Regions from separate parts of the Homo sapiens genome. Here all the other regions are linked to region 2. Evidence: promoter capture Hi-C in 16 types of primary human blood cells and fetal thymus (Javierre and others, 2016). All regions are on one chromosome and are shown on one strand. The core of a region is centred on a gene start or on the middle of the fragment in contact, and the rest is flanking DNA. Distances in the headings are between cores, read along the strand shown.

Region 1 (3,414 bases), core at 793-3,292, 3.1 Mb before region 2:
ATTTCCTGCATTCTGGATTATAATCCTTATTTCTATTCCCAAGTAAACCCAACATGTTAGAGATAATTTTCTCTTGCTTTTTTTTTGAGACACAGTCTCACTCTGCCACCCAGGCTGGAGTGCAGTGGTGCAATCTCGGCCCTCTGCAATCTGCCTTGCGGGTTCAAGTGATTCTCCTGCCTCAGCCTCCCGAGTAGCTGGAGCTACAAGCACATGCCACCACACCCGGCTAATTTTTGTATTTTTAGTAGAGACAGGGTTTCACCATGTTGGCCAGGCTGATCTCGAACTCCTGATCTCAAATGGTCCACCTGCCTCGGCCTCCTAAATTGCTAGGATTACAGGTGTGAGCCACCACACCTGGCCGTTTTTTCTTTTTTTTGAGACAAGGTCTCACTCTGTCATCGAGACTGGAGTGCAGTGGTGATGAGATGGGATAGTTCCCTTGACCCCCTTGGTGGGTGGGAAGTGGAGTGACTGGTTTCACTAAGCCCACTGCTGGCCACTCCTCACGGGAGGGAGTGTGCGAGAGAGCGAGTGTGGGAACTGGAGTGAACGAATTCTGGAACCAGCCAGTTGCTCCTTTCTGGTGGGAGCAGGCTCTATGTGGGCCCTGCAGCAGCATCCAAGCATATTACAGCCAATGCTCTGTCCGCTCTGCCTTCCAGGGATGGCCAAGTGCCAACCAGCTCAGTGGAGGGTCAGGGTGGCAGCCCCTATACTCTCAGGGGCTTCCTGGTTCTTGTCTGGCATCCAGGAAGAATCAGGTCACATGAACGGGTTGAAAGGTAATGAATGCAGACAACTTTATTGAGCAGTGGGTGGCTCTCAGCGGAAAGAGAGGCTGGAAAGGGGGTGGGAAGGTGATCTTTACCTGAAGCCCACCCATCTCTGGCTAGGCCCCTCTCGGAAGCTGCACGTCCAAAATTAGCTGCATCTACTCTCTAACACTTAGTTGTTTCTTTGCTTGCCACTCAGCCGCTCGTGTTCCCGACGCTCAGCCGCTTATGTTGCTTTGCCAGCTTAAGTCTTTCATGGGCACAGGATGGGGTGGGGCAGGCCAAAAAAGCAACATTTGGGCAGAAAAATGGGGTCAGCTGTTTTCACTTAGGGCCATGGTTCCAGGCTTAAGGGTGGGGTTTAGCTGGGAGCCCAGCCCTTCTGTGACAGTGTGATCATAATTCATGGCAGCCTTGACTTCCCCTGGGTCAAGCAATCCTCCCACCTTAGCCTCCGAGTAGCTGGGACTACAGGCACATGCCACCACGCCCAGATAATTTTTTAATTCCTTGTAGAGAGGGGGTCTTGCTTGGTAACCCAGGCTGGTCTCTGACTCCTGGCTTCAAGTGATCTTCCTGGAGTGCTGGGATTACAGGTGTGAGAAACCATGCCTAGCCTCTAGTGTCTTTTTTTTAAGGTTGACAATTTACATTTCCAATAGTCACTCACGTAATTTTAAATTTTCTAGTAGCCACATTTTAAAAAGTAAAAAGAAACAGGTAACAATCAATCTTAATGATGTTTTTATTTAACTCTATATAAAAATTATCATTTCAACAATAAATATAACATTATTGAGAAACTTTAGTATTTTTGTATTAAGTTTTTGTAATTCAGTGTGTATTCTAAATTATGGCATAACTCAATTTGGACTAGCAGCATTTTTTTTTTTTTTTTTGAGATGGAGTGTTGCTCTGTCGCCCAGGCTGGAGTGCAGTGGCACCATTTCCGCTCACTGCAAGCTCCATCTCCTGGGTTCACGCCATTCTCCTGCCTCAGCCTCCCGAGTAGCTGGGACTACAGGTGCACACCACCACGCCTGGCTAATTTTTTGTATTTTTAGTAGAGACAGGGTTTCACCTTGTTAGCCGGGATGGTCTCGATCTCCTGACCTCATGATCCGCCTGCCTCGGCCTCCCAAAGTGCTGGGATTACAGGCGTGAGCCACCGCGCCCGGCCTGAACTAGCAGCATTTTAAGTGCTCAGTGGCAACGTGGTAGGTGGCCACCATGCTGTGCAGTACAGGTAGACTCTCATGTCTAGATCCACTTGCTGGATGATCTTATCTGTGTCAAAGTTCCAATTCCCATCTATTAGTTGATGACTCAAATTTTTATATCTGCTCCAACTATTCTTTTGATCTCCAGTTCCTTATAGTTATCCACCTTCTTCACAGCTCCACTTTAATGCCCCAAGACACCTCAGACTCAGCATGTCTCACATCTAACTCATAATCTTCCCTTTCAAATCTGAAATGTTTTTCTATCTCTGTTATTTACATTACATTACCAGTCAATCCAGTTTCACCAGCACACACCGAAGGGGATTCCTTGATATCTTCTTCTCTCTCAAATCCCTTATACAATTCATCACCAAGTCTTGCCCATTTTATCTCCCACATATCTCTTAAATCTATTCATTTTTTTGGTCATACCCATCATCATTCCCTTTCAAGCCACTATAACCTATTGACTGTAATAGCCTCTAAACTGATCTCCCTGCTTTCATTCTGGCCACCCTCAACTCTACTCTGTACACTGCAGCCATGGTGATCTTTTCAAAAATCTAATCATGTTAATTGCAACTCTCATCAGGTTAACTGTCTCCTCACCATTAAAATACTTAAGGGGGCTGGACACAGTGGCTCATGCCTATAATCCCAGCACTTTGGGAGGCTGAGGAGGGCGGATCACCTGAGGCCAGGAGTTTGAGACCAGCCTGGCCAACATGGTGAAACCCCGTCTCTACTAAAAATACAAAAATTAACTGGGTGTGGTGGCGCGTACCTGTAGTCCCAGCTACTCGGGAGGCTGAGGTGGAAGAATTGCTTGAATCCGGGAGGCGGAGGTTGCAGTGAGCCGAGATCATACCACTGCACTCCAGCCTGGGCGACAGAGCAAGACTCCATCTCAGAAAAAAATAAAAAATAAAAATAAAATACTTAAGGGAGGTAGGTGGATCACCTGAAGTCAGGAGTTTGAGACCAGCCTGACCAACATGGTGAAACCCTGTCTCTACCAAAATATACAAAAATTAGCTGGGTGTGGTGGCATGTGCCTGTAGTCCCAGCTACTTGGGAGACTGAGGTGGGATAATTGCTTGAACCCAGGAGGTAGAGGTTGCAGTGAGCTGACATCACGCCACTGCATTCCAGCCTGAGCAACAGAATGAGACCCTGTCTGAAAAATAAATAAAAAAAGTAAAATAAAATACTTAAGAGTTTTATATTGTTCTTAGGACAAAGTATAAAGCCCTTAGTATGATCTAAAAGGCTCTGTCAGCTCTCCTACCCTTTCCTTCCTGCAAGGCTCTTACCTTTCTAGTCTCATCTCATCACACTCACTCCCTTCTCCACCTCTTTGCATTCCAGCCATTCTGGATGTTTTTTAGTTCTTTAAATGTGTTATACTCCCT
Region 2 (3,299 bases), core at 768-3,267:
AAGCACCATAAAGTTGAATTAACCAAAAAAGAGAGAGAGAAAGTCCAGACCCTTCAGTGACTACCTCTGTCTACATAAGATCAGACTCCTCAGTCTGGTATGTGAGGCCCTGGACAATCAGGTGCTAGTGTACTTTTTTAACTTTATCTGTCACTACTTCCCTTCCTGTGCCCTCCACTCTGGAATTCTTCCTGGGACTGTAGGACTTTAGTTGGGCCAGAAGGGCTGGGTCTGGGATAGGGTTGCTTAGAGAGTGCCGTGATGCCGCAGCCTCAATGCTAACTTTTGTTTTTTTGTTTTTTTTTTTTTTTGAGACGGAGTCTTGCTCTGTCGCCCAGGCTGGAGTGCAGTGGCATGATCTCGGCTCACTGCAAGCTCTGCCTCCTGGGTTCACGCCATTCTCCTGCCTCAGTCTCCTCAGTAGCTGGGACTACAGGCGCCCGCCACCTCGCCCGGCTAATTTTTTGTATTTTTAGTAGAGACGGGGTTTCACCGTGTTAGCCAGGATGGTCTCGATCTCCTGACCCCGTGATCTGCCCGCCTCGGCCTCCCAAAGTGCTGGGATTACAGGCGTGAGCCACCTCGCCCGGCCAATGCTAACTTTTTTTAGGTAACATCTTCTGTAGACTTTTAGACATTATCTCATTGAGTTCTCATAGACTCTGCAAGGTAAGTATTACTCCCATCCAGAACCAGACACCTGATTTGCAGGGTCCAGTGCAAACTAAAAAAAGCGTGGCCCCTTGTTCATACATGTATTAAGAATTTCAAGCCGGGCATGGTGGCTCAGGCCTGTAATCCCAGCACATTGGGAGGCCGAGGTGGGCGGATCACCTGAGCTCAGGAGTTCGAGACCAGACTGGCCAACGTGACGAAACTCTGTCTCTACTAAAAATAGAAAACTTAGCCGGGCGTGGTTGTGCACGCCTGTAGTCCCAGCTACTCCGGGGGCTGAGACAGGAGAATCGCTTGAACCCGGGAGGCGGAGGTTGCGGTGAGCTGAGATCGCCCCACTGCACTCCAGCCTGGGCGACAGAGCAAGACTCCATCTCAAAAGAAAAAAAAAAAAAATCAAAATGACAGCAGAGCATTAAATGAAGTGTAAGGCCATGTGTGACTGTACCAGTGTGAACCTATGAGGCCAGTCCCACCCCTATCTTACATCTAGGGAACAGGTACACAGAGATGAAGTAAATTCCCAAGGTTACTTTGTCAAGAGCTTGGAAAATATAAGAGTCAGAAGTCTAACAGGTTGAATCCCTATTAAACTCTCCCCAACTAAACTACGCCCCTCCCTGTTGAGCTGAATCTAATGAAAGCTTCCTAAATGTATTAACCACACACACGCACAATCTGCTATCAGTCACTTTCAGTAGTTCATCGCTGTAACATCTCAGGAGTTCAATGTTTCAACGTGTTCTGTAGATTACTGTGATAACGCGGCAAGCTGTCGTAAGACTTCTTGCTGCACATTTCTTTTTAAAATATTCTCCAGGAGTCTGATGAAAAATACAGACATACCTATGTTTAATGTCAATGGATGGAACTTATTTTAAAAAGTACTGTAATGGCAGAAGTTGTGACACAAAGTACTGCAGTGATGTTGTAACTCCAACACCTAAATATATTATCAAGCATTCGCGTTTTGTTTTGTTTTTTAAGTGACTACTAGATACTGTGATTCACTTAAGTGAAGCGAACTGAAGCCCGTGGTCAAGGAGAGACACCTGAAGGTGAAGGGACAAAGCGAGCAGGGTAAGAGCTCGAGCCCGACCCCTCTCAAAAAATATAGACCCGGAACGCGCGCCTGCGCAGAACGAATCCTCCCGCGCACAAGCCGGGCGGAAGAGCTGGGGCGGGCAGGGGCGGGAATAAGGTTGCTAGGAGAACGCGATGACGCTACGGGCTCGGCGCTCTTCTCCACCAATGGGCGACGCGTACTTGCAGTGGCGCGCTGTGTGCGTCACGCCGACGACGCGCGAAGGGCACACATCTTAGGACCCGGAGGACGTCCGGCCTCTGTGAGCCGCAACCTTTCCAAGGGAGTGGTTGTGTGATCGCCATCTTAGGGAGTGAGTGTGGCCGGGCCTTCTCCTGTGGCGGGTGTGGGGAGCGGAGCCCAGAGCTCCTGTGGGGCCGCTGCTTTGGCGGTGGGCCCAGCCGGGAGCAGCCTCTTTCGAAGGCCGCCGTGACCTCTTCAAGGGCGTGGAGACGGGAAGGAAAAGGCCCCGGTTGGGGTTCCAGGGCGCCGGTAACGTTAACCGGCGCCTTGCCTGTCCTCTAACCGTCGCTCCCTCCTCCCCTAGAAAGATGTTCTCGTCCGTGGCGCACCTGGCGCGGGCGAACCCCTTCAACACGCCACATCTGCAGCTGGTGCACGATGGTCTCGGGGACCTCCGCAGCAGCTCCCCAGGGCCCACGGGCCAGCCCCGCCGCCCTCGCAACCTGGCAGCCGCCGCCGTGGAAGGTGAGATCAGACCCTGCCCAATACAGTCGTGTGGTCTACTTGTGGGCCGCCCAGCCTTTGAGGCCTGGACCCGGCTTGGAGGACAGGGAAGGACGAGTCCAGCCCGCTGCACCGTAGGACGGCGCCCAGTTGCTTGCCCTGGGGTATCGGCCTTTTCCACCATAGGCGGGTGTCAGATCCTTGGCCTTCCCTCAAGGGCGTGGAAGCGCTGAGGCCCTGTGTCCCTTCGTGACCTCCGTGTGCCCGAGGGAAGAGAGGCCGTGACTAGCTCTTTCTCCGCCGTGAGCTCGCTTGGTCAGCAAACTAAGTACTGGGTAAACTCTCCTCCCGAAACTACTGACCACCCACAGTTCTACTAACTATATTACCTGTCCTTTGATTTGCCCTTAGTTTTCTTAAAAATAGTCCTTTCCTAAGTTTTATATTTGTCGACGCCAGGTCAGTCATTTTTGCACTTAATTGTATATGAGATAACTAGATGTCCTGTTTTCGTGCGACTGGAGGAGGCAGCTTGCAGCCCTACATAGGCAATAGAAAGGAGATAATTGGTGGGCGTCCCTTTGGTGTGATTATCTCTTGGGATTCTTGGTGGTTGGGCCCAGCTTTAACTTAGTTGTGTGTGTTTTAAATCCTAGTGAAGTATGTACATACAGAGAAACCTGAAAACCGAATTGTAGGAGTCCTAAGAATGTTATCTACCTTGTGCCTGTAAAATCGAAAGATTTTTTTCTTTAAATCATTCATGTGCTTCTGTTGTCTTTAGTATGGATAGAGTCCTTATTTACACTATCTGTCGTTCAGTTTAAAAGTTAAAGCTAACATTATTTGTGTA
Region 3 (3,369 bases), core at 699-3,198, 3.3 Mb before region 2:
GAATTGTAATTTAATAGAAAAAACATAACCAAATTTCCTCATTCCTTGAGCATTCTAGTTTAATCAGTGTTTTATCACTATTGAGAGGAGCATTTAAAACTTTCAATTAGTCATTTACAGGGAAAGTATGGATTGGCAGAAGGATCCTTTCCCCAATCTTCTTACAAAGACACCTAAAATGTGAGGTAACCAAGCTGGCCCATTTGTAATAGTCTAGTAAACACTAGAGAATTTTTTGACTAACACCCAGAAGGTGAGAGTTAGGAGAGTTAGAGCTCACATGGATCAGAACCAGTTTTCCTAGTCCTCCATTTATACCATTTCTTCCCTGTGCCCCTTTTAAGAGTGAATGTTCCTGGGAAGTGGTTTGTATATAATAGGCTATTTAATAAGCTTGGATTTGAGGTTACTTGGCAACACAAAACAAAGAATGGCCAGGGGATAGTCTTAGAGCAGCAGATGGTCATTGACCTCTAATTTTTTGTTTTGTTTTGTTTTGATACAAACTTGGGTTTTATAGGTATTATTGTCATTTATGACAAGTATTTTTATATATAGAAATGTTGTTGCTAGTTTATAAATAAGTCAAGTGAGAGTTTAAAATTGAATCCCCTCAGAAACTGAGGAACAATAAAAAGCATAGCCAGAGGTTGTTTTAAAAAATTACCAGGCTGGGCACAATGGCTCATGTCTATAATCCCGGCACTTTGGGAGGCTGAGGCAGAAGGACCACTTGAGCCCAAGTGTTGGAGACCAGCTGGGGCAACATAGCAAGACCCCATCTCAAAAAAATTATCATATGTCTAGAAAGTTTGTTTTGTCTTCATTTTATTTATTTATTTATTTATTTGAGATAGGGTCTTCCCCTGTCACCCAGGCTGGAATGCAGTGGTGTGATTACAATTCACTGCAGCATTCACTTCCTGGGCCCAAGTGATCCTCCCACCTCTGCCTCCCAAGTACCTGGGACCACGGACATGTGCCACCATGCCCAGCTAATTTTCTTCTTTATTTTTTGTAAAGATTTAAAAATTACCACTCACTATGTTGCCCAGGTTGGTCTCAAACTCCTGACTTCAAGCAGTCCTCCTACCTTGGCCTTACAGATGTGAGCCACCACACCCAGCCATATTGCACATTTCTAAGACAAGTTTTTAACTGTAGGATCTATATTTTTCTAAAACGAAGTTCTTTTTTTTTTTTTTTTTTTTTTTTTGAGACGGAGTCTCACTCTGTCGCCCAGGTTGGAGGGCAGTGACGCAATATTGGTTCACTGCAACCTCCATCTCCCAGGTTCAAGCAATTCTCCTGCCTCAGCTTCCCAAGTAGCTGGGATTACAGGCACAGGCCACCACGCCCAGCCAAGTTTTGTATTTTTAGTAGAGATGGGGTTTTACCTTGTTGGCCAGGCTGGTCTTAAACTCCTGACCTCAAGTGATCCGCCTACCTTGGCCTAAACTGCTGAGATTACAGGCATGAGCCACCATGCCCGACCAATTTTTTTCCTAATTTGGGGAGAGCTAAATTTTAGAAAACTTGTTGTATTGTTTAGCTCATTGTCAGGGAATGTATGTTTAGAATTGCTCCCAAAATTCTGTTCAAGGAATGAAGTATCAATTATTTCCTCTGAAAAGCTGTTTTTCTATGAGTTCTTAATGAAACCATCCTTAGCATTAATTGCTCTCTCTTTTTTAACTTTATTTTTGCATATGCTTGTTAGTAGTTGTTAAGTAGTCTGCCCTGATATTCTTACTATGAATATTCATTCTGTCTCTTTTTCTGGTTTCTTTTCCTGTGATTATTCTTAAATTCATTCCATAGAGTTTTAGCAGCAGGCTTCTCGTTGGCTTGATATCTTCTCTGGGGATCTCATCTACTTTCTTGCCACTTATGTCCATTCTCCAGGCTTTGCTGAGTTCCAGGTGCTTGTTAGACATTTTCTTCTACATGTGCCCCACAAAGCTCAGATTCAACTTGTCTAAAATAGGACTTCCTCAGACACCCCCAAAACAAACAAACAAAAAATGTTCCTTTTAATAGTCCCAAATCACTACCCCCTCAGACACCCCCAAAACAAACAAACAAAAAGTGTTCTTTTTAATAGTCCCAAATCACCACCCTCTCAGTTACCATACCATTTCCAATCGCGCTGACATAGCCTTGGTCATCAAGTGATACATCAAGTCAGCTTCTGTGTCTCTTAAATCTAACTCTTATTCATGATCTTTTTTGTACTCATTACCTAACTTAAAGGCCTTTATTGTTATTTAGCTGAGTGATTAATTTTCTTTTCTCTTTTTTGAGATGGAGTCTCGCGCTGTCGCCCAGCCTTGAGTGCAGTGGTGCGATCTCAGCTCGCTGCAACCTCCACCTCCCGGGTGCAAGCGATTCTCCTGCCTCAGCCTCCTGAGTAGCTGGGATTATAGGTGCCCACCACCACGCCCGGCTAATTTTTTGTATTTTTAGTAGAGACGGGGTTTCACTATGTTGGCCAGGCTGATCTCGAACTCCTGACCTTGTGATCCACCCACCTCGGCCTCCCAAAGTGCTGGGATTACAGGCGGGAGCCACCGCCCCCGGCCTTGAATATCCTTTTAATCATGCTTCTTGTCTACAATCATACCCTGCCAGTTTAGCCCCTGCACTATTGCCAATTATTTTTCTTTATTGTTTCGCTTCCTTGCATAAAAATCTTTGGTAGCTCCTCACACCCTACAGGATAATGTTCATACTATTATGGTGTGTAAGTCTAAGATCCTTTAAAACCTATCTCAGTGTACCTTTTTAACTTCCTTACTAATCCCTTCTTCTCTTGGGTCATAACTGTCCTGGAGTGCGCCACCATCCCCATGACATGTGCTTTAATGGCTCTTTCCTTCATCCTCTTCCCTTGACTGAAGTGATCTTCTCTTTTTTTTTTGAGATGCAGTTTCGCTCTTGTCACCCAGGCTGGAGTGCAATGGCGCGATCTCGGCTCACCACAACCTCTGCCTCCCGGGTTCAAGTGATTCGCCTGCCTCAGCCTCCCGAGTAGCTGGGATTACAGGCATGCACCACTATGCCTGGCTAATTTTGTATTTTTCGTAGAGACGGGGTTTCTCCATGTTGGTCAGGCTGGTCTCAAACCCCTGACCTCAGGTGCTCCGCCCTCCTCGGCCTCCCAAAGTGCTGGGGTTACAGGCATGAGCCACCGTGCCCAACTCGTTCTTCCCTTCTTTGTTAAATTCCTACTCATCCGTTAGGACTGAACTCCAGTGTTAGCTCCTCTCTGACCTCCTCTTTTCCAATACTTTTTCAGACTTTACATTGATTGTAATTCTTTATATTGTCTCTTCTTCTATACTAAGTTCTTGAAAACAATAGTTACAT
Region 4 (3,268 bases), core at 374-2,873, 3.4 Mb before region 2:
ATAAAGATGTTAAGATTTTTAATGTGTTTATTAGCCAATTGTATATCCATTTTGTGAAGCCACGTCAAATTTCTTGCATATTTTTCTATTGGGTTGTTTCTTTTTCTTGCTGATTTGAAGGAATTATTTACATACACTGGATACAAGTCCTTTGTTAGAGATGCAGTTGGCCCTCCTTAGCTGAGAGTTCCACATCTGCAGATTGGACCAACCGTGGCTCACGCCTATAATCCTAGCACTTTGGAAAGCTAAGCCAGGCAGATCACTTGAGGCTAGGAGTTTGAGACCAGCCTGGCCAACATGGCGAAACCCAGTCTCTACTAAAAAATACAAAAACTAGCTGGGCATGGTGGCATGCACCTGTAGTCCCAGCTACTCCAGAGGCTGAGGCATGAGAATCGCTTGAACCCAGGAGGCGGAGGTTGCTCTGGGTGACAGAGTAAGATTCCATCTCAAAAAAAAAAAATAAAGGAAATACTCTGGCCCAGTGAGGTGGCTCATGCCTGTAATCCCAGCACTTTGGGAGGCTAAGGTAGGAATATTGCTTGAAGCCAGGAGTTTAAGACCAGCCTGGTCAACATTAACAAAACCCTGCATATTAAAAAAAAAAAAGAAAAAAATTAACCAGGTGTGGTGATGCATGTCTGTAATGCCAGCTACTCCACAGCCTGAGGCAGAAGATTGCTTGAGCCCAGGAATTTGAGGCTGCAGTGAGCTACAATTCCAGCCTGGGTGACAGAGTGAGACCATATCTCTAAATAAATAAATAAATACTCAAAAATATTCAAAAAATAATACAAATAAAAAAACTATACAGGATAACAACTATTTACATAGTGTTCACATTGTATTAGGTATTACAAATAATCTAGAGATGATTTAAAATATGTGGGAGACTGTGTGTATGTTATATGCAAATACTATGCCATTTTATATAAGGGACTTGAGCATCCATGGACTGGGTATTTGCCCTAGTCCTGTGACCAATTCCCCATGAATAAAGAGACAACTGTATATACCTCATATATCTTACCTTGGGCTATATGTGGCCTCTGCACTCTTTTAATCGTGTCTTTCAATGAACAGAAGCTCCTTATTATAATCCAATTAAACCTTATTCTTTTGTGATTAGTGCTGTTAAAAAAATATTTGCCTACTCTAAGGTCACAAAGATATTTTCTTTAAAAGCTTTATTTGACATTTTCCCATTTAGATCTGTCATCCATCTGGTACTGATTTTTGTATGGTAACAAGTGAAGATCAACATTTTTTTTTCCCCGTATGGATGTCCAGTTGACCTGGCACCATTTACTGAACAGATCATTTTTTCCCCACTGAACTGTAGTGTTGCCTTTGTCATAAATCAGGGAATCTTTTATGTGTAGATCTCTTTCTGGACACTGTCTTCTTTGCCATTGATCATTTTGTCTATTCGTGTGTTAATACCACATTATTTTAATTACTATAATTTAAAAAATAGGTTTTAATATCTGATAGCATAAGACCCTTCAGCTGTATTTTTCTTCAGGATTGCCTTTGGCTATTCTTGGCCCATTATATTTCCATATAAATTTTAGAATCAGCCTGTCAGTTTTTGTAAAAAAATAAAAAATAAAAATAAAAAAACCCTACTGAGACTTTGATTGAAATTGCTTTGAAGCTATAAATTAATCTGGGGAAACTTAACATCTTTACAATCAATATTGAATCTTCCAATCCGTGAACATTTATTGCTTGCCTTCTAAATGAATCAAGCAACTTCTCATCTCGTTCTGTGCTCTAGGACTGATTTTACAAAATGAGAATTATCTGTTTCTTCAGAGTATAGCTAAATTGGCCTTTCCTGGGGAAAAGAGACTGAATGTTGTCTATCAGCTCAATTTCTTTTATGGTTATTGCTCAGGTACAATTTTCTATTTTGATAACTTTTTTATTCTGAAAGGCAGTGTAATATAGTTAAAGATATGGGCTCTGGAGCTGGATAACCTAAGAAATCCTAGGTCAGCTATTTATTAGTTATATTAGTTAATGTGACTTTGAGCAGGTTACTTAACTTGTCTAAGCTTCAGTTTTCTCCATATTAAATAAAAATAACAGTAACTATCTCGTAAGGTAGTTATGAGTACTAAATGATTTAATATAAGTGAATTACTTAGATGAGTACCTGACACATTGTAAACACTCAGTAAATGTTACCTTTTATTAAATTTTTCCAACAAATTGCTTTTTATCTAGGTTTTCAAAATTATTGATATATTCTTAGTAGTCTCTTTAGTTTCATTTATAGCACAAATTAGATCTGATTGTTGTTATGTTTTTCTTTTTGTTTTGCATAGATGTGCTGGAGTTTCAACTTACCAGATAGACTTTTCTTTTTTTTGAGACAGAGTTCCACTCTGTTAGCCTTGTCGCCCAGGCTGGAGTGCAATGGCAGGATCTTGGCTTGCTGCAACCTCTGCCTCCTGGGTTCAAGCAATTCTCCTGCCTCAGCCTCCCGAGTAGCTGGGATTACAGGCACCCATCACCATGCCCAGCTAATTTTTGTATTTCTAGTAGAGATGGGGTTTCACCATGTTGGCCAGGCTGGTCTTGAACTCCTGACCTCGGGTGATCCACCCACCTCGGCCTACCAAAGTGCTGGGATTACAGATGTGAGCCACCGTGCCTGGCCTCAGGTAGACTTTTCAAAAAACTAGTTGGTTTTGTTTGGTCAGTTCTATTGAATTTGTTTGTGGTTTTAAATTTTTTTAAAATTTCTACTTTTATCTATTTCCATTCATCTATTTGTGTTTATTTTGCTATTTTTGTTCTGTTTTTTTTAGCTTCTTGAGTTAAAAACCTAAATGCCCAAAATAACTTGTAAGGCTATAAATTTCCCTGAGTATTGCTTCAGTTGTATCACGAAAGTTTTGAAATGTAGTTTGTCTCATGGTTGTATAAGTTCCATTTTTATTTCTTATTTAATACCCAAGTATATAGTTGAGGGATTGATGTTATCATTGGTGATTATTTTTCTCCCTGTGTCCCTCAGACCCATAATTCCACCCTGATCATTATGGACTGCATCACTGCATTCCCTTGTCCTCTGGGTTCCATTTAGGTTCGGCCAGTGGGAAGGACCTGCAGATCAGAGGATGGAGGAAAGAGCGCCAGAGAGGTTTGGGTGTTTCTTGTCTGAATTCTTTCCCTCTACGGCTACTATTTGTTAGTGATTGCATTCCTGTACCTAAAGCCACAACTTTTTTTTTTTTTTTGACAGGGTCTTGCA
Region 5 (3,293 bases), core at 661-3,160, 3.3 Mb after region 2:
ACAGCACGTATCACCTTCTAACAAATCATGTGATTTAACTTATTTATTATGTTTATTTTCTGTCTCCCTTCACTGGATTGTAAGGTCCATGAAAGCTCTCAATATTTGCTGAATGAATATTTCTGAATGACTATTTCTTGGGTACTCACTCTTTACCCCAGGACAGGGCAGATCCCTTAAGGAAAAGCTTGACATGGCCATTCTGTTTGGTGGCTAGTCAGTGATTTGAAAGTCCTTAGGATGAGTTTCCTTTTACATTCTAACATTGTTCAGTCATTCTGATGGTCTAATTTTTTTTTTTTTTTTTTTTTTTTTTTTTGAGACGGAGTTTCCCAGGCTGGAGTGCAGTGGCGCGATCTCGGCTCACTGCAAGCTCCGCCTCCCGGGTTCACGCCATTTTCCTGCCTCAGCCTCCCGAGTAGCTGGGACTACAGGCGCCCGCCACCCCTCCCGGCTAATTTTTTGTATTTTTTTAGTAGAGACGGGGTTTCACCATGTTAGTCAGGATGGTCTCGATCTCCTGACCTTGTGATCCGCCCGCCTCAGCCTCCCAAAGTGCTGGGATTACAGGCGTGAGCCACCGCGCCCGGCCCCTGATGGTCTAATGTTTTTAGCACAGTTGAACACTTTAAATAAGAGCCACAACCATAAGGAGGACCTCTCCCCAGTATGGCATTTAGAATCAGCTTCCTTATCAGATACTTTCTCCTTGTAACATTGTTATTCTTCAGCATATTGGATAAATTGGCAAATGGCTCTTATACACATGAAAAGATACTCAACTTTATGAATAGGAATAAATATTCAAATTAAAACTCACTGATGCCAGTTGTGATCTAGTGGGTTAGCAGAAACCCAAATGTTTGATACTAGTACTGGTGAGAATATGGGGAAACAGTCTCTCTCATACATTGCTTACAGGAACGTGAATTGATTTCAGTCTCCATGGTGGGACTTGGGCAATATCTATGGAAATGACAGATACACACACACCCCCCCATCATTTGATGCAACAGCCTTTTTTTTTTTTTTTTTTTTTGAAATTTATCCTATAGGTGTACATGCCCATGTGAAGAATGGCATTTCTGCAGAGTTACTCAGGGCATTGCTTTGAATAACAAAAGATTGGAAACTACAAATGACTATCAGTAGAGAATTGCCTAAATAAATATGGTTTATTTATTAAAGGATACTTCAAGTGAAAGCTCTCTGTACCTAGCAGATTTTTACGTCAATACACTTATATGGAAAAATCTCCAAGATACATTGTTACATGGGAAAAAGCAAGATGCAGAACAACCTATGCTCTCGTTAGTTAAGAAAAAAGAGGAGAAAAATAATATATATTTGCATTAGCTTGCATAAAGAAACTAATGAAAGTGGTTTATCTGTGTGTGATGGAGGGAGGAGTAGGTCAAGGTCAGTGAGACATTGGCAGATGGGGAAAAAGGATAATTATAAGGCATACTTTTTTGTTTTATTTTTTACCCAAATAGGTTTTTTTTTTTTTTTTTGAGATGGAGTTTCACTCTTGTTGCCCAGGCTGGAGTACAATGGCACGATCTCGGCTCACCACAACCTCCGCCTCCCGGGTTCAAGCGATTCTCCTGCCTCAGCCTCCTGATAGCTGGGATTACAGGCACGTGCCACCACACCTGGCTAATTTTTTTGTATTTTTAGTAGAGACGGGGTTTCACCATGTTAGCCAGGGTGGTCTCGATCTCCTGACTTCATGATCCGCCCACCTCGGCCTCCCAAAGTGCTGGGATTACAGGCGTGAGCCACTGCGCCCCGCATGAATGTTTCCTATCAGAAAATTAAATTAAAAACATGAGGCCGGGCGCAGTGGCTCACTCACGCCTGTAATCCCAGCACTTTGGGAGGCCAAAGCAGGCGGATCACGAGGTCAAGAGATCGCAACCATTCTGGCCAACATTGTGAAACCCTATCTCTACTAAAAATACAAAAATTAGCTGGGCATGGTGGCATGTGCCTGTAGTCCCAGCTACTCAGGAGGCTGAGGCAGAAGAATCGCTTGAACCCGGAGGTGGAGGTTGCAGTGGACCGAGATTGTGCCACTGCACTCCAGCCTGGTGATAGAGCGAGACTCTTTCTCAAAAAAAAAAAAAATAAATAAATACAAAATAAAAACATGGGACCAACCACCGTGAGATATAACAAGTTAGAATAGCATAAAGTGATATTTCTTATTCTGAAACCATTAACAAAAGCATATCAAAAGGAAGGACAAATAAAAGCTAATCTCAAAAAATTAGTTTAGATTTGCACTCGGGTGTGGTGCCTTATGCCTGTAATCCCAGCACTTTGGGAGGCTGAAGTGGGCTGATCACTTGAGTCCGGGTGTTTGAGACCAGCCATGGGCAATATGGTGCAACCCTGTCTCTACAATACATACAAAAAATTAGCTGAGCGTGGTAGGATGCACCTACAGTCCCACTTACTCAGGAGCCTGAGTGGGAGGATCACTTGAGCCTGCAGTCTGAGGCTGCAGTGATCACTCCAGCTTGGGTGACAGAGTGATACCCTGTCTCAAAAAAAAAAAAAAAAAAAAAAGATTTGCACACGGCCACACCCACATTCTCAAGCCAAATCATGCTTAACTTGTTATAGTTTCTTATCAAATTATTAACTTTTTCCAGCTGATAGATCACTGTCTTCCATCTTCTTTTTGGCATGTGTCTCCTGCCATGATATCTTGCTCATGATATTCTGTGATCCTTTACTCTTCAGTGTTGCCGATTCTAGATCCTGGCTTTTCTCTTTATTAGCACGTCTCACTTTCCATGTGAATACAGTTTTGTGGGATAGATTGTGGCCTTTGGCCACCCATATTGTCCTACCTCATGACCCCATAATCTCTGCTCAGTAGTTGATGACAGAAAACTGGGTCACCTAGAATCAAGCCACTTTAAAAGGAGGAACAAAATTGCAGAGTAAATGAAGTAAAAGAAGTTTGGTCAGGTCTTTAACTTCAAAAATGATACTAAAAATTAGGAAAATAACGATTTTAACTTGCATTTATGTAACAATCACAAATTTTGGGTTATGACAAGTGTGTGTTAAATCTTCAGATGCTGATCTTTATAGAGAAAATGTTTTTTTTTTTTTTTTTGAGATGGAGTTTCACTTTTGTTGCCCAGGCTGGAGTGCAATGGCGCAATCTTGGCCCACTGCAACCTCCTGCCACCTGGTTCAAGCGATTCTCCCACCTCATCCTCCCGAGTAGCTGTGATTAGAGGCATGTGCCACCACGCCCGGCTAATTTTGTATTT
Region 6 (3,321 bases), core at 675-3,174, 3.2 Mb after region 2:
GCATGATCTTCTCAATTGGTTCAAAACTCAGGAGACAATGAGAATGTTTTTATGTATTGGACCCTAAAACATTTACCATCTTTGAGTCTCCCTTTGCTTAGCCAGGGTGAAAACTGAACATCCAAAGAAAACAATCTTGCTCAATCAGGGACCTCTTGTCCCAGGCCTACACATATTTTGTGTATAGAAATAGTGTGCTTCAAAAGCCTCACTGTGAGGTCATAAGAAAATTAAAGAGCTTTCAGTAGCTGATTAAAGTTAAAATACCTCCTGTTAAGTGTATATTTAATTAAGTCCTTCCTTTATTAATGATAAGAAGATAAAATGTTCATGTTGTAAATGCTTTCCTTTTAAGCTCTAGGCTTGAAAATCTTGCTTGTTCCCAGGAAACACATTTTGATTTTATTCCCTCCCTTAGTGTATATTCATAGACATGTAAGTTGTAAGTCATCCTATTCCTTTCTTTAGTCTAAGAAAGCCAGACAGCCATAAAAAAGAATGAAATTATGTCCTTTGCAGCAACATGAATGGAGCTGGGTGCTATTATCCTAAGTGAACTAACTCAGAAACAGAAAATCAAATGCTGCATGTTCTCATTTATAAGTGGGAGCTAAACAACGGGTACACATGGGCATAAAAATGGCAATATTAATAATTAAAACCAGGGACTCCAAAAAAGGTGACAGTTGGGGGGTGATGAGATTTGAAAAATTACCTGTCAGGTACAGTGTTCACTATTTGGGTAATGGGTACACTAGAAGCTCAATCTTTACTAGTATTCAGTATACCCATTTAACAAACATGCATGTGTATCCCTTCAATCTGGAATAAAATTAAATACATTTTAAAAAGAAAGTGAGGATGGCTTTTAATTTTTGCAAACTAGTGCAAACAAAATTATTAAGTAATTTAACTGTTTCTGATAGAATTTCCTTTTCTTTTTTTTTTTTTTCTTTTTTTTTTTGAGATGGAGTCTCACTCTGATGCCCAGGCAGGAGTGCTTTGGCATGGTCTCTGCTCATTGCAACCTCCGCCTCCTTGGTTCAAGTGACTCTCCTGCCTCAGCTTCCCAAGTGTCTGGGATTACAAGCACCTGCCACCATGCCTGGCTAATTTTTGTATTTTTAGTAGAAATGGGGTTTCACCATGTTGGCCAGGCTGGTCTCAAACTTCTGGCTTCAGGTAATCCGCCTGCCTCGGCCTCCCAAAGTGCTGGGATTACAGGCATGAGCCACCGCAGCCAGCCTCTGACAGAATTTCAAGAGCCAAATCTATGGCCATACCACCCTGAAGGCGCCCAATTTCATCTGATCTCCTTAAAGCTAAGCAGGTTTGGGCCTGGTTAGTACTTGGATGGAAGAATTTCAAGAGCCAAAACATAACATGGCTCACTGTTAACTTTTTTGTGAGTTCAAACACATCACATATATATAAAATACCTAATTTTCACATAAATGTAACCATACTTTGTCCTTTTTTTTTTTTTTTTTTTTTTTTTGAGATGAAGCCTCGCCCTGTTACCCAGGCTGGAGTGCAATGGCACAATCTTGGCTCACTGCAACCTCTACCTCCCACGTTCAAGCAATTCTCCTGCCTCAGCCTCCCAAGTAGCTGAGATTACAGGAATGTGCCACCACGCCCAGTTAATTTAGTATTTTTAGTAGAAATGGGGTTTTACCATGTTAGCCAGGCTGGTCTCAAACTCTCGACCTCAGATGATCCGCCCACCTTGGCCTCCCAAAATCCTAGGATTACAGGCATAAGCCACCGCACCAGGCCCAACCATACTTTATTCTGTTTATGTGATATTTACTTGTGGGTTTTTTTGTACATTTCATCCACTGGAATATAAGCAACATAAAGGCAAGAGACTTACCCATCTTATCCAGAAATGTATCCCTAATCTTAGCATTGTGTCTTGCCAATAGAAACTAATTGATAAAAATTTATTACATGAATTAATATATTTTGCACTGATAAAAGTACCAACCATTGGCTGAGGTGGCTCACACCTGTAATGCCTGCACTTTGGTAGGCCAAGGAGGGTGGATCACTTGAGCCCAGGAGTTCGAAACCAGCCTGGCCAACATGGCGAAACCACATTTCTACTAAAAATACAAAAATTAGCCAGGTGTGATGGTGTATGCTTGTAATCTCAGCTATGTGGGAGACTGAAGCAGGAGAATTGCTTGAGCCTGGGAGGCAGAGATTGCAGCGAGCCGAGATTGCGCCACTGCACTCCAGCCTGGGCGACAGAGAGGGACTCTGTTTCAAAAAAAAAAAAGTTCCAATCACAGAGTTGTATAAAGTTTTGATGAATTGAATTACAGTGTGTTATTAAAGGATATAGAGAATAACCCTATGTTTTGAGGTAGAGCTCATTTGGAAAACTTTCTAGCTTGGGATCATTTTTATATAGTGGAATATACTAATGTCAACTTGGTTTTAAAACCTCTGTTATTTCTATCATTATTGACTCTGGTTGTTTGTTTGCTTCATTTTGTCTACTACTTCTTTGTATCTTTTCTCCCTTTGCCTAAATAACCTTTTCTTTTTTTAGAGACAGGGTCTCTCTGTCACCCTGGCTGGAGTGCAGTGATACCATCTTGGCTTACTGCAGCCTCGACCTCCTGGGCTCAAGCGATCCTCCCACTGCAGCCCCTGGAGTAGCTGGGATTACAGGTGTGCACCAATATGCCTGGCTAATTTTTGTATTTTTTGTAGAGATGGGTTTTCGCCATGTTGTCCAGGCTGGTCTTGAACTCCTGAGCTCAGGCAATCCACCCATCTCGGCCTCCCAGAGTGCTGGGATTACAGGCATGAGCCATTGTGCCCAGCCTAAATAATCTTTTCAAAAACCAGCTTCTGCCAGGCACGGTGGCTCACAATGGAATCTGGAAAAGAAGGCTGGCCCAGTAGTCCCAGAACCTTGGGACACCAAGGCAGGAGGATTGCTTGAGGTCATGAGTTCAAGACCAGCCTGGGAAATATATCGAGATGCCCTGTCTCTACTAAAAATACAAAAAATGTGCTGGGCATGGTGGTGTGCGCCTGTAGTCCCAGCTACTCAGGAGGCTGAGGCGGAAGAATCACCTGAACCTGGGAGGCAGAGGTTGCAGTGAGCTGAGATTGCACCACTGCATTCCAGCCTGGGCAACAGAGTGAGACTCCGTCTCCAAAAAAAAAAAAAAAAAAGACAAAAAAAAAAAAAAAACACACCAAACAGACAAAAAAAAAACCCAGCTTCCTGTTTGGGTCATTCTCTCTAATGTTCTGTGGTTTTCTATTCATTGATTTGTGTCTCTGTCTTGGTAATTTTCC
Region 7 (3,181 bases), core at 26-2,525, 3.4 Mb before region 2:
ATAAGACCATATGGGCTACACCCAAGCTTGTCAAAAGTCTGTTTACTAACCAGAATTTGGTTGGTCACATGTGTAGACTCTGTAAAATACATGATTCAGTGAATTAGAGCCCTGACCCAGACTTTCTTCCCTGAAGGTTGAGAAACTAAGACACCCTTGTGATGACCCCAGCAGAAAAATCTTAAACAGAGTTCATTTTCACTTTTTCTTATCATTTTAGAACCCCAGTCAGTGTACTGGATTTTGAATTAAGTATTCTAAGGCACAGGTCTGTATTTTCAACAGCGAGATTACCAAACAGGACCCTTTGAGCTCACCTGAAATGTATGCCTCACTGTTCATTTATTTGATCTCAGGGTGTCAAGGTGTCCTCCTCAGGAAGACTTGAATTTCTTTTCTCCTCTATTCAATGTTGTTTACAAGAGGAACAACCTCCCAGGCAATACTGTGATTCTGACCCTATGACTCAGGGCTTTTGATTCCTCTGGCACATTTTAGTAGTCTCAAGCCTGTTGCAGGCTCCCTGCTGCAGGCCTAAACAAAAGTCTCCTTGGAAAGCGAAATTCAAAAGCAAAGCTCACCCAGCTTTTACCAGGCTGCCCTACTTGACAGCCTATAACCTGTCCAAAGCCGCCCTGGTTTCCTGTGGCCTCCAGAAAGAACTCTCCTTATGCCACTGGCTGGCTGCGTCCATTAACCCCTTCTCACCAGCTTCCACCCAGTCGAGTAGCAGGCCCTAACAAACTAAGCAGCATAACAGATAAAAAACAAGCTCCAGGATTGGCAGAGATAATGGTAAGCCCTTAGGGTTTAAGCCTGATGGCCAACAGAAAACACACCCCAATGGCCAAACCTCCAATTTCAAGAAAAAATTGTACTCATTCACAAATAAAGTGATTAAAAAAAAAATTTATCTTAGGCAAGGATAGTAGTACATTGTGAAGAAGCCAACCAAACTTATTACACACAAAAAAATATGCAAAAGCATGTTTAAAAAAAAAAAGGATAGTACCAATAAAATGGTTCTGCAGAGAAGAGCAATCCTGAAAACAGACAATTTGAAATATTTATGCCAAGAACCGGTAGTGGTGGCTCATGCCTGTAATCCCAGCACTTTGGGAGGCTGAGATGGGAGGATCACTTGAGCACAGGAATTTGAGACCAGCCTAGGCAATACAGGGAGACCCTATCTCTACAAAAAATAAAAAATAAAAATCAGCTGGGTGTGGTGGTATGCCCCTGTGGTCCCAGCTACTTGGGAGGCTGAAGGTGGGTGGGGATCACTTGAGCCCAGGAGTTACAGGCTGCGGTAAGCCTTGACTATACAACTGTACTCCACCCTGGGAGACAGAGAGGGGACCCTGTCTCCAAAGAAAAAAAAAAAAAAAAAGAAAAAGAAGTACTTATGCCAAGGAAGGAGCTTTTTGCCTAGGTACTAATATTCAGGAAGCAGAAATATGAAAACAGAATGCAGCTGGCTGTGAGAAAAATTAGACAAGGGAGGAAAGTAGCCATTTTTAGGCAAAAGGAGGAAGGGCAGGAAAGACTGACTACGAGTAAAGAGAAATGCTATGAGAATACCTGACAGTTAAAGGAACTTAAAATAATTTACTTTACTTGGTACGCTGACTTGCTCGACAATTTTATTTATTCAATTCACCCAACAATGCTTTTTTTTTTTTTTGGAGCCCCCAAGATATGCTTTGGCTGTGCCCCCACCCAAATTTCACCTTGAATTGTAGTCCCCATAATCCCTACATGTCGTGGGAGGGACCCGGTGGGAGGTAATTTAATCACGGGGGCGGTTTTCCCCCAAGCTGCTGTTCTAGAGATAGTGAGTGGGTTCTCACAAGATCTGATGGTTCTATAATGGGCTTTTCAATCTTTCGGTCTGCACTTCTCCTTGCTGCCCCCATGTAAAGAAGGATGTGTTTGCTTCCTCTTCCGCCATGATTGTAAGTTTCCTGAGGCCTCCCCAGCCATGCTGAACTGTGAGTCAATTAAACATCTTTCCTTTATAAATTACCCAGTCTTGAGTATGTTTTTATTAGTAGCGTGAGAACGGACTAATACACCCCACTATGTGCCAAGTATTTTCTAGAAAAGTCACATTTCAAGACTTGAATTTCAAAGACCTGAAGTTAGTGGACTAAGAACAATCTAAAGATTTCCAAAAGGGTCCATGTGCTTTTTTGTTAAACACAAACAAACATTAGAAATACAATGGAAAAGCTACCTATGCGACTATGGAGAGAAGGAAGCCGCTGCAGTGGTTGCTCTCTTGGCCTATTTTCATTCATTCTCTCTTAGACCCAATCAACATCTACTGATTCTACTAGGCCTCTTGCTTGGCTTTATCCAGGGCAAAGAGATGACTAGAACTCTTCATGGAGCTTAAAACCAAATACAGAACATCAGACATGCCAATAAATAGTTATACATTAAGACAGCCTGAGATGAAAGGATATCACAGCATAACTGGGTGGTCAGAATAGGAAGTAAACACTTCTGACTAGGTAATTGTAGAAGCTTAATGAAGCCAAAGACTGAGGGGGTGGATTATTGAGGATGGGCACGATTTTAATAAGAGAGATGGAGTAGGTATTCCACAGGTAGGAAGTGCACACACAAAAGTGAGAAATAGGCCCAGTGTAGTGACTCATGCCTGTAATCCCAACCCTTTGGGAGGCAAAGGCAGGAGCAGTGCTTGAGCCCAGGAGTTCAAGACCAGCCTGGGCATGATGGCAAAACCCTGTCTCTACAAAAAATACAAAAATTATCTAGGCATGGTGGCATGCACCTATAGTCCCAGCTACTCAAGGAGGCTGAGATGGGAGGACTCCTTGAGCCTGGGGAGTCGAGGCTGCAGTAAGCCATGATCATACCACTGCACTCCAGCCTGGGTGACAGAGTAAGACCTCATCTCAAAAAAAAAATTTTTTTTTAATTAAATTATTTTAAAAGTGAGAAATAAAGAGTAGTTACGTGTTTCCTGCATTTTTCCTATATCCACTTGAGGTCAGCAATTAGCCATCAACAGGTAAAATGACCAATCTTCAAAGAGTGGTGAACTTCTAAAAATGTGGAGGTTCCACCTGATAAGCGCACCACACGTAAATGCCTACATATTTCAGTAACTTCAGACTTCTTATACCTAGCAAATAAATGTCATTGAATTGGC

What was found. Contacts are between HindIII fragments. The CHiCAGO score rates a contact against its expected background, and 5 or more counts as called.
Region 1: a fragment that was not itself captured here is called in contact with the fragment with the promoter of SLC25A3 in region 2 in 2 of 17 cell types (activated CD4 T cells and total CD8 T cells); the score reaches 6.1 in activated CD4 T cells.
Region 3: a fragment that was not itself captured here is called in contact with the fragment with the promoter of SLC25A3 in region 2 in 1 of 17 cell types (non-activated CD4 T cells); the score reaches 6.2 in non-activated CD4 T cells.
Region 4: a fragment that was not itself captured here is called in contact with the fragment with the promoter of SLC25A3 in region 2 in 10 of 17 cell types (total CD4 T cells, activated CD4 T cells, total CD8 T cells and 7 more); the score reaches 23.9 in total CD4 T cells.
Region 5: a contact is called between a fragment that was not itself captured here and the fragment with the promoter of SLC25A3 in region 2, in 1 of 17 cell types (M1 macrophages). The highest score is 7.6, in M1 macrophages.
Region 6: a contact is called between a fragment that was not itself captured here and the fragment with the promoter of SLC25A3 in region 2, in 1 of 17 cell types (non-activated CD4 T cells). The highest score is 8.6, in non-activated CD4 T cells.
Region 7: a fragment that was not itself captured here is called in contact with the fragment with the promoter of SLC25A3 in region 2 in 2 of 17 cell types (monocytes and non-activated CD4 T cells); the score reaches 8.2 in monocytes.

The regions. Positions count from the first base shown.
Region 1 is chr12:95,468,281-95,471,694 of GRCh38, forward strand. No RefSeq gene overlaps it. Among named protein-coding and RNA genes, the nearest start is that of METAP2, 4.2 kb to the right of the region's middle. The HindIII fragment of the contact is 5,545 bases long and covers 1-3,414 here.
Region 2 is chr12:98,591,669-98,594,967 of GRCh38, forward strand. It overlaps SLC25A3 (solute carrier family 25 member 3), which reads left to right and starts at 2,018. Exons shown (of 8, transcript NM_002635.4): 1 at 2,018-2,072; 2 at 2,307-2,467. The coding sequence starts at 2,311. RefSeq lists enhancers at 1,540-1,759, 1,808-2,432, 2,010-2,109, 2,433-3,057. The HindIII fragment of the contact is 3,126 bases long and covers 1,318-3,299 here.
Region 3 is chr12:95,253,149-95,256,517 of GRCh38, forward strand. The region is part of intron 2 of VEZT (vezatin, adherens junctions transmembrane protein); the gene reads left to right. Among named protein-coding and RNA genes, the nearest start is that of VEZT, 37 kb to the left of the region's middle. The HindIII fragment of the contact is 3,115 bases long and covers 392-3,369 here.
Region 4 is chr12:95,221,080-95,224,347 of GRCh38, forward strand. The region is part of intron 1 of VEZT (vezatin, adherens junctions transmembrane protein); the gene reads left to right. Among named protein-coding and RNA genes, the nearest start is that of VEZT, 4.9 kb to the left of the region's middle. The HindIII fragment of the contact is 875 bases long and covers 1,187-2,061 here.
Region 5 is chr12:101,881,818-101,885,110 of GRCh38, forward strand. All of the region lies in intron 1 of DRAM1 (DNA damage regulated autophagy modulator 1), which reads left to right. Among named protein-coding and RNA genes, the nearest start is that of DRAM1, 5.9 kb to the left of the region's middle. The HindIII fragment of the contact is 3,451 bases long and covers 186-3,293 here.
Region 6 is chr12:101,835,548-101,838,868 of GRCh38, forward strand. It overlaps the pseudogene RNA5SP369. Among named protein-coding and RNA genes, the nearest start is that of GNPTAB, 6.2 kb to the left of the region's middle. The HindIII fragment of the contact is 4,973 bases long and covers 1-3,321 here.
Region 7 is chr12:95,205,326-95,208,506 of GRCh38, forward strand. The region is part of intron 2 of FGD6 (FYVE, RhoGEF and PH domain containing 6); the gene reads right to left. Among named protein-coding and RNA genes, the nearest start is that of FGD6, 11 kb to the right of the region's middle. The HindIII fragment of the contact is 2,503 bases long and covers 25-2,527 here.